Linked DNA regions of Homo sapiens: region 1 is linked to region 2. The links are contacts of gene promoters, found by promoter capture Hi-C in human tissues and cell types (Jung and others, 2019). All regions are on one chromosome and are shown on one strand. Each heading gives the region's core, a stretch centred on a gene start or on the middle of the fragment in contact. The rest is flanking DNA. Distances are from core to core; before and after follow the strand shown. Region 1 holds the start of SRXN1 (sulfiredoxin 1). Region 2 overlaps CSNK2A1 (casein kinase 2 alpha 1).

Evidence for each region. The method cuts DNA at HindIII sites, captures the fragments that hold promoters and counts their contacts. A contact is called where the count stands out against the background at its distance.
Region 1: the fragment with the promoter of SRXN1 here is called in contact with a fragment that was not itself captured in region 2 in 1 of the 25 tissues and cell types used here (thymus).

What each region holds. Positions count from the first base shown.
Region 1 is chr20:650,533-655,469 of GRCh38, reverse strand. It overlaps SRXN1 (sulfiredoxin 1), which reads left to right and starts at 2,270. Exons shown (of 2, transcript NM_080725.3): 1 at 2,270-2,494. The coding sequence starts at 2,285. It overlaps LOC107985423 (a long non-coding RNA gene), which reads right to left and starts at 2,517. Exons shown (of 2, transcript XR_001754452.2): 1 at 1,996-2,517; 2 at 1-1,681. RefSeq lists a silencer at 1,833-2,392. The HindIII fragment of the contact is 30,072 bases long and covers 1-4,937 here.
Region 2 is chr20:508,456-513,339 of GRCh38, reverse strand. CSNK2A1 (casein kinase 2 alpha 1) reads left to right here. Exons shown (of 14, transcript NM_177559.3): 3 at 4,680-4,884. The coding sequence starts at 4,789. Among named protein-coding and RNA genes, the nearest start is that of CSNK2A1, 33 kb to the left of the region's middle. The HindIII fragment of the contact is 7,767 bases long and covers 1-4,884 here.

The sequences.
Region 1 (4,937 bases), core at 1,021-3,520, 140 kb before region 2:
ATTCGCTGTGGAAGAGGCACAGCAAGGAGGCCAGTGTGACTAGAGTTGACTCCGGGGCTTGAGGAGTGGAAGGTCAGAAGGTGTGAGCCACTGCATCCAGCCAGGGAAGGTTTCTTCACTCTTAAAAAGAGGCTCGAAGGGATGTCCTAACTTCCACTTGTGGACATTCGCATGTAATGATGTGATGTTTTGAGCTACAGTAGCCATCTTGGGACCATGAGGGGCACACCGCAGGATAACAGAACACCAAGGATGATGGCACAAAAGGATAGACAGAACCAGGGTCTTTTTTTTCTGAGAGAGTCTCACTCTCTCACCCAGGCTGTAGTGCAACGGCATGATCTCAGCTCACTGCAACCTCTGCCTCTCGGTTTCAAGCAATTCTCCTGTCTCAGCCTCTGGAGTAACTGGGACTACAGGCGCGCGCCACCATGCCTGCCTAATTTTTGTACTTTTGGTAGAGACAGGGTTTCACTATGTTGGCTAGGCTGGTCTCGAACTCCTGGCCTCAAGTGATTCGCCTGCCTCAGCCTTCCAAAGTGCTGGGATTACAGGTGTGAGCCACCGGGCCCAGCCAGAACTGGAGTCTTTGGTCACATTGTTCAACTGCCTCTTTACCAACCTTGGACATACCTACCTCCAAACATTTTATTATGTGAGAAAACAAACCTTCTTATTGCTTAAGCCATTTTGAATTGGGCCATAGATATCTTAACACAGAGAATTTGATACCAGGAAATGAGGCCTCCCTGGGTACACCATGATGATAGAATCAGGCCAGAGCTCCACTTTTCCACTCTAGAAACTGTTATCCTGCCATTCTTACTTCCTGTAATGAGGAAGATGTTTTAGAAGGGATAACTTCCCTCTTGATGAAATTCTCTAATTCTGAATAATTCTGGGGCTGAGGTGTGGGTGTCAGTTCTACTTCTTGAAATAAAGTATCATTTAGGTGCGCACGGGAATTATGTTTCGAAAGGGAAAGGCTGGAGTCTTGGTGTCAGTGTTCTAAGGTTTTGTGAGAGACTAAGAACCCAAAATAAATGATCTTCAACAGCAAAATGGATGTTATGCAATTCACAGAGCACTATGAGCACTCTCTCAATTCACACAACTTTGAGTGATGGGCAGCATGACTTCATTTTACAGACGGGGTTCAGAAAGTGTCAGCAACTGGTGGAAGGCAAAGTAGAAACTCCTGGCTCCCTCCTTCGTCTCCAGTTTTCTCCAGCTGGCAGGGTAAGTATGCATTTCTCCATGTTCGTGCCATTCAGGTTGAGAAGGAAGACAAGCAAACCAGACATGCTTGTCTTCGACCGAGTCTGGGATCGTCCACCTTCCTGCTTGGAGTTGGTGGTTAAGTGGCCCCACAGTTTGGACTCGTGTGACCTGACTTTCATTTCAGCTGACCTTGAACAGCGGGTCTATAACTGCACCTACTTCCAGTAGTGTTGTAATGACACAAACAGACAGTGTGGAACTTGAAGGCAGGGCCCACCCATTGTCAGCGCGACTCCTGAGGGCTCCGTGTGACAGTCACTGTTGCTGAACCAAGGCAGCCAACGGTGGGGTAGAAGGCGGACTCTGGAGCCAGACCGTCTGGATTTGAACGCGGATTCGGCCACTTACTAGTTCCGTGATCTTGGGTACATCACTTAAACCTGTGTCTCAGTCTCCTCTTCTGTAAAATGGGAATAACAGTCATACCTTCCTTGCAGGGTTGTTTTGAGGTTCAGATACGTTAATACACGTGCAAAATGTTCGGAACGACTCCAGACACAGCCGGCGCCAGACTGGAAGTGGAACCGCTGGTGGGGATCATAACCTCGCTGGCTAGGAACCCCAGCAGCGGGGCAGCAGCGCACCGCGGGCTTTGCCGACTCACCCTGGCTGGGCAGGTCCGCCGCGCTCTCCCCCGCCCCCGCCCCCGCGGCCTAAGTCGGCCCGGCCGGTGCGTCACCCGCGCCCCTCCCGCCCCGCGACCTGCAAACTCACCCTGAGTCAGCCCGCCCGGGCGTTTCCACTCCCCGGACGCCGCGCGGCGCAGGGGAGGCGAGAGGCGCCCCCCGGTGGAGAGCCTGAGCCCCGCGCGAGTCTGGCGGCACCTGGCGAGCGGAGCCGGAGTCGGGCTGGGGACCGCGGGGTCGAGGCCGGACCGCGGCGGGGTCGGGGGAGAAACGCGCGCTGCCCTGGCACGGGCCCCCCCCCCCGGCCGCGCGGAATGGTATGGCCCGGCCGGAGTTAAGGCCGGGGGGAGGCGGCGAGTCCCGCGGCGGCGGCGACGATGGGGCTGCGTGCAGGAGGAACGCTGGGCAGGGCCGGCGCGGGTCGGGGGGCGCCCGAGGGGCCCGGGCCGAGCGGCGGCGCGCAGGGCGGCAGCATCCACTCGGGCCGCATCGCCGCGGTGCACAACGTGCCGCTGAGCGTGCTCATCCGGCCGCTGCCGTCCGTGTTGGACCCCGCCAAGGTGCAGAGCCTCGTGGACACGATCCGGGTGAGGCCTCGGGGAGTCCAGCCAACCGGAGGGAGGGCTTCGGAGGAGGGAGGTTGCCGGAGGAGGGAGGTCGCTGCGATGGACGCGAGACGGACTGGTTCCGGGCCCAGCCGGAGCTCAGCCTCTGCTGTGTGACCTTGAGCAAGTAGCTGGGCCTCTCTGGGCCTCTGTTTCCTCACTTGAGCAAGGAGGGAATTGGGCGAGATAATTAAAGTAGTGATGATAACGCTTATAACGCTAGTGCTTGCAGTGGTCCAGGAACTGCAGGAAGTCCCTCAGTTTCCTATGCCAACCCTAGGAGGTAGATAGTGGCTCTTTTGCAGACGAGAACTGAGGCAGGGAAGATTTCAGCGGCTTGACTAAGATCAGGCGCTTAAAAAGTGACACGGCTGGAATTCACACCCAGGCAGCCTGGGCCCCACTGCCCAGCACATGGCCACCGCACTACCCGGAGATAAGCCGTGGGCTCTCATGGCTGTGACAGTCAGTGACAGTGGGACTAGGTGTGTCATATCTGCTGGGAGGCCCTTGTCTGAATGGGAAGTGGGAGAGGTCAAGGGTCAGCTCCACCACTGAGGAAGGGTGTTAAGAATACCGGAGTGATTCTGGCAGGAACTTGGGGGCCCCGCAAGAACAGGTGTCAGGTTAGGCCTACATAACGTTGTGTCCCCTTCCCCCGACCCTTGGAAGGTGAGCACATGAGATCCCTAAGCCCCACCCAGCACCTCTACAGCCACCCCCGATAACTTTCAGTCCTAGTATTTACACTAGTGTCCTCACTGCCTGGAGCCACTTCCCCAGACAACCACAGGGCCTGCTCCCCTGCCTGGTTCAGCTCTCTGCCTCCTTGATCACCCTTGGTCAGAGTCACTGGCCTCTCTAGCTCTCCCCTTAGCCCGAGATGTTTTTCAGGATACCACTTATGTCCACCAGAAATTATATTATACATCTATTTGTGTTGCATTTTATTTTCTGTCTTCCTGACCTCACGTGCACTCCACAAGGGCGAGGACCTCGTCCCATCTTATCTGTTGCCACAATAGTAGCACGGCGCCTGGCTGAGATGGGAAGGGATCTGCCATGCATGCCCTGTCCCACCACTGGGCTTTTTCTCCCGTTGAGAACCTCTTCTATCTCTGCCTTGTCGTTTCTCACTCTTTCTCGGTCTTCCTGTCTCAGTGTCAGGATCTTCCCTGACCATCCCTACCGGGTTAGGAGCTTCTGTGGGCCTGCAGCCACCTGTGTGCCCACCTGCATAGCTCTGATCTCACTGGCTTTTTTTTTTTTTTTTTAAGACGTTGTCTGGGTCTGTCACCCTGGCTGGAGTGCAGTGGCACGATCTTGGCTCACTGCAACCTCCGCCTCCCGGGTTCAAGCCATTCTCCTGCCTCAGCCTCCCAAGTAGCTGGGATTACAGGCGCCCACCACCACGCCTGGCTAATTTTTGTATTTTTAGTAGAGATGGGGTTTCACCCTGTTGGCCAGGCTGGTCTGAAACTCCAGACCTCAAGCGATCTGCCCACCTCGGCCTCCCAAAGTGCTGGGATTACAGCCCACTGGCTTTTAACGTCCTGTCTAGACACCTGCCTTCCGTGCTAGAACCGTAGGCTCTGAGGGCCAGAACCAGCTCTGCCTTTGCTTACATACACCTGTATTAGTTTTCTGGGGCCACTGTAAGTTACCACAAAGTTGATGGCTTAAAACAACACAGGTTTATTTATGGTCAGAAGTCCAAAATGGGTCTTACTGGGCTAACACCAAGCAGGGCTGCACTACTTTCTGTAGGCTCTAGGGGAGAATCCATTTCCTCGCCTTTCCCAGCTTCCAGACGCCACCCACACTGCTTGGCTTATGGCCTCTTCCTCTGTCTTCAAAGCCAGCAACATCAGGCCAAGGCCTTCTCACATCGCATCACTCTGACCTCTTCCTCTACTTCCTCTTCCAGTTTTAAGGACCCTGATAATGGCATTCGACCCATCTAGATAACCTTGGATAATTTCCGCATCTCAGGATCCTTACCTTAATTCTGTCTGCCAAGTCCCTTCTCCCATGTAAGGTAACACATTCAGAAGCATTCGGGCGTGGACATCTTTGGGAGCCATCATTCTGGCCATCCACCATCGTGCCTCCAGTACCCGGCACAAGGCCTGCCTGGCACGGCTGCCCTCCTTAGTGCTCCACTAATGCCCGGTAGGCATCAGCTCACTGACTCTTCATCAGCAGCCCTCTAGGATGTTTTATTCCCAGTTTACAGGTGAGGAATGGTGTTCAGAGGGCTGTGTGCCCCAGCTGCTGTGGAGAGGAGCTGAGATCCAAAGTCAGGTGTGCCAGGTTCCAGAGCTCAGGCTTGTGACTGCTGCACCTTACTGCTGAATAATCATTTGTGGAATCATGAGAGAGAACCCGTGGACCAGCAGCAGGAGGCCTTCCACGCCGCTCACAC
Region 2 (4,884 bases), core at 117-2,616:
AGCACAGTTAGACAGGTTTTATAAGTGATGAACCAAAGCTGGGAAAAGCCCAACAGAGAGATCACTTTTAAGCATAGGAAAAGGGCTTTGAGATCCACAGACGAAGGCTGTCTTACACGTATAAAATGTTAACCAGAAGAGTAAAGTGGCTGTAAAGGTTATGTAGAGAAAGATACTGTTTCCTGTCAGAGGAGAGGCTGAGAATTTAAAAGTTTAGTATATTAAAAGTAATAAATTTCTGGGGACAGCATTTCTGTTGGGTTCATGCTGCTGTTTCTACTATTTTGGCCATATTCACACCTACACCTTTCTCTACGGTTTTCCTAGTGTCTTTCATTGCTGTCAAGGCAGGCATAGTAGTCACAGAGTCACCAATCCTACAACATAGATGACCTTATTTCTTTGGGAAGAAGAAAAATTACAAGAAAACATCTGGTTTTTGCATGTTTGATGTGTTTGTGTGTGTGTGCGTTTACAGTTTTAACTGATATTAAGTGAAGATAGATTAATGTCACCCAGGTTTTACAAAATCAAAGAAATAGAAATAATTTTAAAGACTTTTGGTACTTGAATTACTTTGTTGTTTTCTGGTCATTTAGTACATTTATGGAACCTCAGAAGGTTTGAGTTGAACAGAGGCAAGTTACAGCAGTTTTTTGGGTGGGAGAATTCATAAGTCAGCATGTGAATCTTTTGATCTCATATATTTGGAGTGGAATGTCATTAATTGTGTTTGTCACGGTTAAGGAATAGAGAATTAATCTCCATCCCAGTCTTGCTATTCTTCTGAAAGCCTTTAGCTGCCGACACCATGGGCATAAGGAGGTATCTCTTCTGGCTTCTCTTTGGGTGTGGTAGCTAAGTTACAGCTTACCTTGGAAAGATGAGCAGCTTGTAAGCAACAAAAAAACAGTATAGTTAACAAATGCATCGTCAACAAACAAAACAACCCAATCAAAAAATGGACAACAGCTTTGAATAGACATTCTCCAAAACAAATATACAAATGGCCAATAAGCATGTAAAAAGATGCTCAACATCATTAATCATTAGGGAAATGCAAATTAAAATCACAGTCAATGAGATACAACTTCATACTCATTAGGAGGGCTGTTACTGAAAAAAAAAAAAGAAGAAGAAGAAAAGAAAACCAAAAAATAGGCCAGGCACAGTCTATTTTGAGAGCACTTTGGGAGGCCGAGGTGGGAGGATCCCTTGAGGCCAGGAGCTCAAGACCAGCCTGGGCATAAGCAAGACCCCTGTCTCTATAAAAACAAGCAAAAAACAGAAAATAACAAGTGTTAGTAAGGATGTAGAGAAGTTGTAGCCTTTGCACTGTTCCTGGGAGTGTAAAATGATACAGTTGCTGTATAGGAGTGAGCCACCGTGCCCAGCTTGTTGAAACAATATGCTGGTTCTTCAAAAAATTAACATAGAATTACTACATGGTTCAGCAGTTCCACTTCTGGATATATACATAAAAGATTTGAAAGCGAGGTCTCAAACAGATGTTTGTACACCTATGTTCATAGCAGCATTATTTACAATAGCCAAGCTGTGGAAGCAACTCAAGTGTCCATCAGCAGATAAATGGATAAGCAAAATGTGGTGTGTGTGTGTGTGTGTGTGTGTGTGTATATATATACACAGTGCAATATCATTCAGCCTTTAAAAGGATTGGAATTCTAACACATGCTACAACATGGATCAGCCTTGAAGACATTATGCTAAATTAAATAAACAAAACAAAGGACAAATATTGTCTGATTCCACTTATATGAGGTTCCTAGAATAGCCAGCTCAGGCAGAAAATAGAATAGTGGTTGCAAAGAGTTGGGGGAGGGAAAATTAGTGTTTAGTGGATACATAGTTTTCATTTGGGATGGTAAAAATTTGTAGAAATGGATGATCTGGTGATTACTGCACAAGAATGTGAATATACTTAATGCAACTGAGCTTTAGGTTTAAATGTGGATAAAATGGCAGTTTTTATTTTTTTTAGATGAGGTCTCTCTCCTGTCACCCAGGCTGGAGTGCAGTGGTGCAATCACAGCTCACTGTAGCCTCGACTTCCTGGTCTCTGGTGATTCTCCTGCCTCAGCCTCCCAAGTAGCTGGGACTGCAGGCAGACACCATCACACCTGGCTAATTTTTTGTATTTTCAGTAGAGATGGGGTTTTACCATGTTGCCCAGACTGGTTGCGAACTCCTGGGTTCAAGCGATCCACCCTCTTAAGCCTCCCAAAGTGAGCCACTGTGCCTGGCCATAAAGTTTATGTTATGTATATTTTACCACAATTTAAAAAAGTGTTTCAACAAGCTGGGTATGGTGGATCACTCCTATAATCACAGTACTTTGGGAGGCTGTGGTGGGAGCATCACTTGAACCCAGGAGTTTGAGACCAGCCTGGGCAACATAGGGAAACCCCATCTTTACAAAAAAAAAATTTATTTAATTAGCCAGCTGTGGTAGCCCACGCCTGTGGTCCCAACTACTTGGGAGGCAGAGGTGGGAGGATTGATTGAGCCTGGGAGGTCAAGGCTGCAGTGAGCTGTGATCAGACCACTGTACTCTAGCCTGGCCTACAGAGGGAGACCTTGTTTCAAATAAGAAGATTTCAACAAAAAGTAAATAAAAATAGTACAAAGGGCATCTCTATTCCCTTTACGCACGTTTACCTATTGTAATATTTTACCCAGCTTGTTTTATCATTTGTGAGTGTGCAGTCATGTGTGCTATATATATACACATGTAAACGTGTGGGCACATTTTTTTCCTGAATCATTTTAGGGTAGATTATATGCATCATGGCTGTTTACTTCTAATTACTTCAGGAAAATTTCTTAACAATAGACATATTCTTGGGCTGGGCGAGGTGGCTCACGCCTGTAATCCTAGCACTTTGGGAGGCCGAGGAGGGCGGATCACCTGAGGTCGGGAGTTTGAGACCAGCCTGACCAACATAGAGAAACCCTATCTCTACTAAAAATACAAAATTAGCCAGGCATGGTGGCGCATGCCTGTAATCCCAGCTACTCGGGAGGCTGAGGCAGGAGAATCACATGAACCTGGGAGGCGGCAGAGGTTGTGGTGAGCCAAGATCACGCCATTGCACTCCAGCCTGAGCAACAAGAGCGAAACTCCATCTCAAAAAAAAAAAAAAAAGAATAGGTATATTCTCTTAACTATTGTGATTATGTACCAACTTCACAAATTTACATTGATACAATAATTTAATACCCTCTGAATTCCAGTTCTGTCGATATTGTTTTTTATAGCATCCCCCTCCACCTCCTGCAGTATGGGATACAGTCTAGAGTATTGCATTTATGCAATGTCTCTTTAGCCTCCATTTGTCTTTTATGCTGTGGACATGTTTTAGAAGTATAGTACCCCTTCCCCCTTTTTAAATAGACACTTCCTCTTTTTCTGAATGTTTCCTGGTAATTGAATTGAAGTTATGGCTGGGTGCGGTGGCTCACATCTGTGATCTCAGCACTTTGGGAGGCTGAGGTGGGAGGATTGCTTGAGCCTGGGAGTTCAAGACCAGCCTGGGCAACATGGTGAAACACCGTCTCTACTGAAAATACAGAAAATTAGCTGAGGGTGGTGGTGCGTGCCTGTAGTCTCAGCTACCTGGGAGGCTGAGGTGAAAGAATCACCGGAGTCCAGGAAGTTGAGGCTTCAGTGAGCCATGATCACACCACTGCATTCCAGTCTGGGCAGTGGAATAAGACCCTGTCTTAAAACACATACACACATACAAATTGAAGTTATGCTGTCTCAGCCAGGAGACTTGCATACGTGTTATATCCTTCTCACGTTATCACAATCTGGAGACTCAATACAATTTCATCTAAATGCATAATGAGGGGAATCAGCACATGCTGTAGGAGATAGGGAAGACATCATTGGAAAGGAACCTGATTTGATAGCATATTTCTAACATCTTACTTATTTTCCCCCGGTGTCAAATTTTGCATTAGCTCAGCTAATCTGTATTACTGTTTTATACCAGTTTTTAAGCTCCTGTATTAAATATAAAGAGAATATTACTGATTTCTGTTTTTAAATTTAATGAAACCAAGTGTGTCTTTCAAATGGTGATCAAGGTTCTACTGATTATTACCTTAAGGTTCCCCCAAAAGATTTGGATTGGTATAAGATGACATGGAGCTTTGATGTATGAGAACAAGCCTTTATTCTCTTCCTGGTTTCATCAAATATGAGTCAGAATGGCAAGTTGTACTCTTAGCTTTGCCGCCATTCTAGAACCTTTTAGCACCCCTACTTAAGTTACAGAAAGCTGCTGAAAAGAAAGTATTTTTCTTGCCAATACCTTTTGTAGAATATATAACTAGTGGTAATGCTGATGTATCTATCCTCAATGCCATTTTTCTCTTCCAGGCTGTCTTACAAAAATCATTCAAATTTTGCCTGCAGAGGTAACAGGATATTTGGCAAAATATGATTAAAGCAAATATCAGTTTACTGTATTTCTTGGGATTTTTCTTCTCATGTTATAGGAAGCACTGGTTAACACAGTTGAGCTATATTTATTGGCTGTAGGTAGGAGAGCCAGAGGTATATTTCAGGCCATTATTATTTGTAAGATTATTTCCTTCCCATATACCTTCTGTAAATGATTCCTTGGACTTTGTGCATTTTGTTTCTGCAGTTTGAAGAAAACAGGTCTGAAACAAGGTCTTACCCCCAGCTGCTTCTGAACACAGTGACTGCCAGATCTCCAAACATCAAGTCCAGCTTTGTCCGCCAACCTGTCTGACATGTCGGGACCCGTGCCAAGCAGGGCCAGAGTTTACACAGATGTTAATACACACAGACCTCGAGAATACTGGGATTACGAGTCACATGTGGTGGAA